Linked DNA regions of Homo sapiens: regions 1 and 2 are each linked to region 3. The links are contacts of gene promoters, found by promoter capture Hi-C in blood cells and fetal thymus (Javierre and others, 2016). All regions are on one chromosome and are shown on one strand. Each heading gives the region's core, a stretch centred on a gene start or on the middle of the fragment in contact. The rest is flanking DNA. Distances are from core to core; before and after follow the strand shown.

Region 1 (2,700 bases), core at 23-2,522, 260 kb after region 3:
CATTATCACACATTAAAAAGGTTAACAATTCCGTAATATCAACAACTATCCAGTCAGTGTTAAAATTTCCAATTGCCTCATAAATGTCAAAAAAATGGGTAGTTTGTTTCTAAGCATTAAAAAACGTCGGTTTCCAAAGCCTGAGGAGATTCTGATCCTGCCACCACAACAGTCACTGAATTAAGTCAACTTCCTCTCTAAACCAGGTAAGAAAACCAAAGCCCAGAAGGATAGGTGATTTGCCCAGGATCACACAGCTGGCTGAAAACAGATGACCTGACCCATAGTCCAGTGCTCTGTCTGGCAATCTGAACAGAGCTATTAGAAGCTTCTGAATCAGCAAGAAGCCTTAATCTAATAACATCCCCTTGCTTGTTGGAAAAGAATCACCACCTGACTCCTCCTAGCAATTACATATCCACTTTATTTTATTTATTTATTTTATTTTTTTGAGACAGAGTCTGGCTCTGTTGCCCAGGCTGGAGTGCAATGGTACAATCTCAGCTCACTGCAACCTCCGCCTCCCAGGTTCAAGCAATACTCCTGCCTCAGCCTCCCAAGTAGCTGGGATTACAGGTGCACGCCACCACATCCAGCTAATTTTTGTATTTTTAGTAGAGATGGGGTTTCACCATTTTGGTCAAGATGGTTTCGATCTCTTGACCTCGTGATCCACCCGCCTAGGTCTCTCAAAGTGCTGGGATTACAGGCGTGAACCACCATGCCCAGCCTACGTCCATTCTATTAAGATGAAAACTAATCTCATGTTAACATCATCAGTTAGAAGGCCAGACCTTGATCTTTATTCTGTGCTTCAACTGAGCTCCAGAAAAGGGGGATTCTCAATGACCTCTACTCTCTTCTCAATGGTAACTGGCTGGCCCAGGCCATGGCAAGCTGAGACGGATTACCTAACACAGGAGGAAGGGATCACGTGGCAGGATCTGTGTTCTAGTTGTCCATCAACATGGCATCAGCAAACGAAGACACCCTAAAAACAGGCCCAAATGGCTTTGTAGGTCACTTCTATCAACCCATCAAGGAACTATCATTTCTGTACTATAAAACTGTTTTAGAGTATGAGAGGGGAAAAGCACTTCCCATCTCATTCTACAAGGATTGAATTACCCCTTTTACATAACTAGACAAAGGAAAGCACACACACAGAAGTAGGGGGTGGAGGGGAAGAAAACTATGGGCCAAAGCCTGAGGAGATTAATATAGACGCCAAAATCCTAAGTAAAATAAAAGCAAATAGAATAGACATGCTTTTCTTTTGAAATGCTTAGCTTCTTTCTTTTTTCATTTCGTTCTTTTGATAGGGTCTTGTTGCCTTTGTATGTATAATAAAAAGAATAGGACACACTGAAAAAGCCACTGCATCTAGAATTCACACAGTTTGATATTAGGAAACCTATTAAAGTAACTCATCATTTTAACTGATTAGAAGGAAACGTTGGCCGGACATGATGGCTCACGCCTGTAATCCCAACACTTTGGGAGGCCAAGGTGGGTGGATCACTTGAGGTCAGGAGTTCAAGACAAGCCTGGACAACATGGTGAAACCCTGTCTCTACTAAAAATAGAAAAATTAGCTGAGGGTGGTGGCATGAGCCTATAGTCCCAGCTACTCAGGAGGCTGAGGCAAGAGAATAGCTTGAACTTGGCAGGCAGAGGTTGCAGTGAGCTGAGATCGTGCCACTGCACTCCAGCCTGGGTGACAAGAGTGAGACTGTCTCAAAAAAAAAAAAAAAAAAAAAAAAAAAGGAAATGTTTATCCTCATTCATTTCATGTGATTCTAAAAGAATAATGGAAAAAATTCAAAACTATCATGAGAAAGGAAAAGAATGAAGATTATCTTAGCAAACTAGAAACAGAATTGACACTCCCTTAACTTCAAGATCCATACTATCAACCCATAACAGAAGGCCAGCGTAGGATAGACAAATTCAAAACTACAGAACAGGCCCATATGTGTTCAGTACTTTAGAATGTGACAGCAGTGGATTTTAGATGAGTGGAGGAATGATGAATGGACTCATCCTTACCTCACTTAACATACAAAAGTGAACTATAAGGAATTAAAGGAAACAAGCAAAAGCATTATAAGAAAACACAAAGAGAGAGTTTCAATATGGGATGACAGAAAAGTTCTGGAGATGGATGGTGGTGATGGCTGTACCACAATGTGAATGTGCTCAATGCTACTGAACTGTAAGCTTGAAACATGGCTAAAATGGTACATTGTATGTTATATATGTTTTACCACAATTCAAATTTTAAAAACAAAAAGGATTACTTTTATATTCTTGTGATAGGGCTAGCTTTCTTAAGGCATAAAACTTTGGAGCTATAAAGGAAAATATTTGAAGATTTTACTATATGAAACATTTAAATGGCTGTATGATCTAGAAATAAAAGTTAAAAGACTGACTGACATTCAATGAATGCTTCAATAGAAAGAAAAAAAAATATGAGCCACTGACAGGAATAACATATATGTAATTTGTGTAACAGATAAAGATTTAACATCTGAATATACAAAGCCACTATAATTCAAAGAGTATGACAAACATTTCATAAAAGACATAAAACTTCTTAAGTAATCAGGAAAATGCACATTAAAACAATTTCATTTTTCACCCAGATTAATAAAGTTAAAATTTTGATTTCCACAAAATATGAAACATATTTTCATC
Region 2 (2,700 bases), core at 180-2,679, 370 kb after region 3:
AGGGCCAGGCCACTCAGGGGCGGCAGTGGAGCTGTCACTGAGGAAGCAAGAGAGAAGCAAGTCAGAAAACAGGGAGCCCACCCAATAGGGAAGGATCAAACTATAGGCTGTCCGGCCCCCAGTTTCTGACACCTACTTCTGGGAAGCCAGAGCTTAGACCCCCTCTTTCCAACTGAGAAACAAAGCGGCCCTCCTGCTGCTCATCTGTAACTTGAAGGGGAAAGGCAGATGAAAGTGCTCCCTACCCTTCAGAAGAAGAACACAGAGCAGAGACCGCCCTGTGAGCTATGGGTACAGCACTGCAAGCTCCTCCCCAACTATGGGACCATTTCCCGCGGGCCCCTGTGCTCACTCTCAGGCAGCTTCATATTGTCCACTGAGGGCAAGAACACATCTCGATGGAGCTTTTCCTCTTCTGGGGTTCTCTCCACTGTCAGTTCAAACAACTTCAAGGAAATGACATCATGATTATCTGAAGAAAAATGGAAGAAGGATGACTTGTGCCACTTGAAAAAGAGGTATGTTTCTTGAAGTCAGTATCTTAGTTCAAGCCTCTGATCCACAGCTAACCAGCAGTGACCTTGAAAAAATAATTGAAACCTCTCCATTTTGCAACTAAAAATAAGGATGGGGAACAAGGCATATTCTATATCTTCTGTATTTAAGTTTTTATCAACAAGCATGCATTACCTGTATAGAAGATCGCTGACTTAAAATGGTTCGACTTACAATTTTCCAACTTTATGATGGTGTGAAAGTAATCTGCGCTTAGCAGAAACCATACTTCAAAATTTGAGTTTTGATCTTTTCCCAGGCTAGCGATGTGTAGTACAACACTCTGTACTGAGGCTGGGCAGCAGCAGTGAGCTGTAGCTCCCAGTGAGCCACACAATCACAAGGGTAAACAACCAGTACTGCATCGTGTACTGTATTCCATACGTTACATCAGACATTCAACACTTTGTTACAGAATAGGCTTTGTGTTAGATGATTTTGCCCAACTGTAGGCTAATGTAAATGTTCTAAGCACATTTAAGGTAGACTAGGCTAAGCTATGATGTTCAGTAGGGTAGGTGTATTGAATGCATTTTCAACTTACAATATCTACAACCTACAATGAGTTTATTGGGACATAACGCCATTGTATGTCAAGACGCATCTGTATAATTAAAAAATTTGGAGATAAAACCACAATTAAATCCCATATGTTAAACCTTCCAGCACAGTAAGAACAGACAAAGTAGGACTGCAGCTTCCCCGCTGGTGAAGACCACACACGTGCACACACACACACGTACAACAGGAAAAGGTCTCATGGCCGCTGTTTAATGGGCCATGGGCAGGGCACAGCTATGGGCATGGGATACACTGCCCTTCTAGACTATGCCTGTTTCTCTGTGGCTTCTTGTACTTGTGACTCTTAATCTCCCTAATAATTACCAGAGAGAAGATCAAGCAATTAGGGACTAGATTTCTCTCTTTAAAGTATCATTATAAACTCCTACATTTAACCATATCTGATGTGTTGCAATGCACTGAAGTTAGACTTTTTTTTTTTTTTTTTTTTTTTGAGACAGAGTTTTGCTCTTGTTGCCCAGGCTGGAGTGCAATGGCACGATCTCGGCTCACTGCAACCTCTGCCTCCCAGGTTCAAGCAATTCCCCTGCCTCAGCCTCCCAAGTAGCTGGGATTACAGGCATGCACCACCACGCCCGGCTAATTTTTTGTATTTTTTTTTTAGTAGAGATGGGGTTTCTCCATGTTGGTCAGGCTGGTCTCGAACTCCCAACCTCAGGTGATCCACCTGCCGTGGCCTCCCAAAGTGCTGGCATTACAGGCGTGAGCCACCGCGCCTGGCCTGAAGTTAGATTCTTATTGATGCTCAACTCACCTGTCTTTGTCAAGTAGGAGCCTATTCAGTTTGGCTCCTGCGTCTCTTTACATAAACCCAGAAGTTTTTTATAACTTCCTTGCTTTTCTGGGAAGTTCCAACTTATAGATTTCCTACCTCAAACCCTGCATCAGCCATTTCTCAAGGAAGCTGCAGTTCCTTTTAGGGGGAATTGGTATTTAGAGACCACAAATCTGAGTGCTAGGGGTGCTCATTGCTACTAGGTTGGTTACTGACTGGGGCCTGGATTTCTGGTCATTTATAAGGAGAGCATCCACAGCTGCTTGGACTGCTAGAATCTTTAGCAGATTCCCAGGTAGTGAAAAACTGGATTCATCTTCTGTTGGAAAAATGTTAACTGTCAGAGCTCAGTTTAAACCATGGGACAGGATAAAAGGCCAGGGCAATGCTCCTCATGCAATGCAGGGCATTAAAGCCTGGAACGGCTGGGAAACATCCTAACTTTCTCAGCAGTTTTCAACAACCTACTATACAACAAGTAAGAGGATGGCAACAAGAAAGACCTCAAAAGAAAGAAACAACTTGCATTTAGGGATACCCTATGGGCAGAGAACACAGACTTACTAACTTGGGTATTCTCACTAAAGACCTAGGGCAAAAAACTTAGACTAAACAAAAAATTATTCTCCCCTGCCATTTCTGACAGTTGGGGACTTTCCATTAAAAAGTACGTCAGGAGGTTAACCCAGAAACCTGTAAGCTCAAAGGAAAATGTGTAGTCATATAATGAGATTATATAGCAAAGATCTCCAGCCTATGCCTCCTATCCCCCTGCCGAGACTAAATTT
Region 3 (2,700 bases), core at 144-2,643:
ACCAACATGGTGAAACCCCATCTCTACTAAAAATACAAAAATTAGCTGGGTGTGGTGGTGGGCGCCTGTAATCCCAGCTATTCAGGAGGCTGAGGCAGGAGAATCGCTTGAACTTGGGAGGTGGAGGTTGCAGTGAGCTGAGATCGTGCCATTGCACTCCAGCCTGGGCAACAAAGCAAGACTCTGTCTCAAAAAAAAAAAAAAAAAAAGTGGTTTTCAACAAAGGGTGGCACTTTTTGATTGCCAAAATGAGCGACAGCACTGATGGCATTTAGTGGGCAAATGATGTTACGGGGGCTTAAGAGCCCACAAAGAGGGCAAACATCCTATCATGCCAAGGATTGTTTCACCCTGAATGCCAACAGTGCCCTTGAAGAGAAACACTGTAAAAGATGCCAGATATGAGAGTTACAAGAAATTCTAGGATGTGCTGGGGATATTCCAGGGAATCACCCTGGCCTTTACTCCCATAATTCAATCCTTAGGGTTAGATGAAACTGAGGGGACAGATGGCATTTTATGCTTATTTCGCTTTTTCGACCTTTATTTATTTTTTGAAGGGTGGGGGGTGTTCACAGGAAGCTATTCACAAGAATCTGAATAAAACGATGGCCTTCATCTTACACTATATTAAATGTACATTTTGTACTATATTTAATGTATACATAGCATTTCTGCATCAGTTCTTCCCCACCTGGACCGCTCCTCATTCCCACGTAGGCTCCCGCTCCCCTCCGTCCCTCTTCCCGGAGGTTTTCAGCGTTTTGCTGCCCACACAGCACAGATCTCTAAGGGAAATAAACCTCGTTTTCTCGATCATCTGCCTCCCCATTATAAAGTAAATTCCACGGGCTGAGCGCGGTGGCTCACGCCTGTAATCCCAGCACTTCGGGAGGCCGAGGTGGGCGGATCACCTGAGGTCAGGAGTTCGAGACCAGCCTGGCCAACATGGTGAAACCCCGTCTCTACTAAAAACACAAAAATTGGCCAGGCGTGGTGGCAGGCGCCTGTAATCCCAGCTACTCGGGAGGCTGAGGCAGGAGAATCGCTTTAACCCAGGAGGCGGAGGTTGCAGTGAGCCAAGATCGCGCCACTGCACTCCAGTCTGGGGGACAAGAGCTAGACTTCGTCCCAAAAAAAAAAAAAAAAGAAAGTAAATTCCACGAAAGACGGGCCTTGCTCACCCTGCTCGACGCTGGGTTCCCAAGCCCAGTCCTGCACCTAGTCCTCGAAGGAGGGGGTTTTCATACTATTTCAGGGGGTCCACCGACCCCAAGAAGCCCAATCAGACGGGGTCCTCAACCCAAAACTCACTCTGACGCCGCCCGCGGAGGCCCGAGGTGGTCTGCGCAGGCGCGCTGCTGGCCCGGCCCGCCGGCGACGTCACGCGGCCGTTACGGCGCTCAGGCGTCTCGACGCGCGCGATTTAAAACCAGCTCAGGAGACGCCAAGGAAAGATGGGACCTCCCGGCCCAGGTGAGCCGGGCGGTCGGGAGGCGCGGCGGGAAGGGCCCCTAGCGAAGCAGTACTTCGGGCGGGCAGGGCTGGCGGGCTGGCCTGGGCGGGGAGAGAGGATATGCTCAGCTCGGGTCTTGGCCCTGCGGCTGACAGCAGAGGCCGGTGCGGGGGGAGGGGAGGGCCGGCGCGGGGCGGGCGGACCTTGTGCGCTCAGCCAATCAGAAAGCGGCTTCGGCCGGAGTCGGAGAGCGCGCGGGCCCTGCCTCACACTCCTCAGTTCCCGGGCGGGCGGTGGGGCGGCCTCCTCCTTGGGCTCCTAAAGCGTGCTCGGTGTCTCTCCATTAAAATGGTGGTTTTCCTGGAATAGACGTTATTTTCAGGGCTTTGGAAGCGATGTGGTTACCGTTGTATGCTTAGCATGCATGCATTTATTTTTGCATCTATTCAAAAGTACTGAGCTCTCCCGTTGGGCGAACAAAATTGATAATATCTCTATACTGTTGGAGTTGGGGAGACAGACAGTAAACAAAAGAAATAATTACACATGAGGCTGAGTGCTGTGATTGAGTATAGCAGAGTAGGGGTGGCTCCGCCAGGGGTTCAGGGAAGATCTTTAGGCAGATACTAGGGAACGTGTTTCAGGCAGAAGGAGCAAGTACAAAAATGAGGCAGGGAAGAGCCTGGCCTGGCCTAGGACCTGACCAGAACATTGTGACCAAGCTTAGTGAGGCCTGACACGTAGGCAGGGTCTGGAGGCCTTGGGTAAGAGATTTGGAAATTGAGTTACATTTTGGACATGGTATGTGTGACTTACGGGAGAGACTCAGGTGAAGGGATCTATAATCACTTAGGTGAGAATTTGGCTCTCAGGGGAGTTATATGGACCACTCAGGGAAGTGACCCATGGATTGAGAAATAAATTTGGATACCATTATCATATAGACCATTAGACCATAAAACCATGGGAACAGGTGAGAACACTAGGAAGGCCCTGCACATCTAGGACCAACGTTTAGAAGCTGGATAGAGAAGGATGAGCTGGAAAAACTCAAAAGACAGTGGTATAGGAAGAAGCCAAGAGTGTTTCAACAAGGAAGGGACTGTCAGCTGTTTCAAATGCTGCTGGATTCCAAGAGAAAGGCCAGAAAATGACCATAGGGTTTAGGCAACATGGAAGTTATAGATGATCACGAAAAGATAGTTCTCATGAAGTTGGAATAGGAACCAGACCAGAGTGGGTTG

What was found. The method cuts DNA at HindIII sites, captures the fragments that hold promoters and counts their contacts. A CHiCAGO score of 5 or more calls a contact.
Region 1: a contact is called between a fragment that was not itself captured here and the fragment with the promoter of NCAPH in region 3, in 6 of 17 cell types (naive CD4 T cells, naive CD8 T cells, total CD8 T cells and 3 more). The highest score is 7.3, in naive CD4 T cells.
Region 2: a fragment that was not itself captured here is called in contact with the fragment with the promoter of NCAPH in region 3 in 4 of 17 cell types (naive CD8 T cells, naive B cells, naive CD4 T cells and 1 more); the score reaches 6.7 in naive CD8 T cells.

What each region holds. Positions count from the first base shown.
Region 1 is chr2:96,597,170-96,599,869 of GRCh38, forward strand. All of the region lies in intron 20 of KANSL3 (KAT8 regulatory NSL complex subunit 3), which reads right to left. Among named protein-coding and RNA genes, the nearest start is that of KANSL3, 40 kb to the right of the region's middle. The HindIII fragment of the contact is 1,892 bases long and covers 327-2,218 here.
Region 2 is chr2:96,707,362-96,710,061 of GRCh38, forward strand. It overlaps LMAN2L (lectin, mannose binding 2 like), which reads right to left. Exons shown (of 8, transcript NM_030805.4): 7 at 353-472; 8 at 1-37. Among named protein-coding and RNA genes, the nearest start is that of LMAN2L, 31 kb to the right of the region's middle. The HindIII fragment of the contact is 5,025 bases long and covers 1-2,700 here.
Region 3 is chr2:96,334,373-96,337,072 of GRCh38, forward strand. It overlaps NCAPH (non-SMC condensin I complex subunit H), which reads left to right and starts at 1,394. Exons shown (of 18, transcript NM_015341.5): 1 at 1,394-1,476. The coding sequence starts at 1,458. RefSeq lists enhancers at 867-1,708, 1,709-2,550 and a silencer at 1,469-1,788. The HindIII fragment of the contact is 5,174 bases long and covers 1-2,176 here.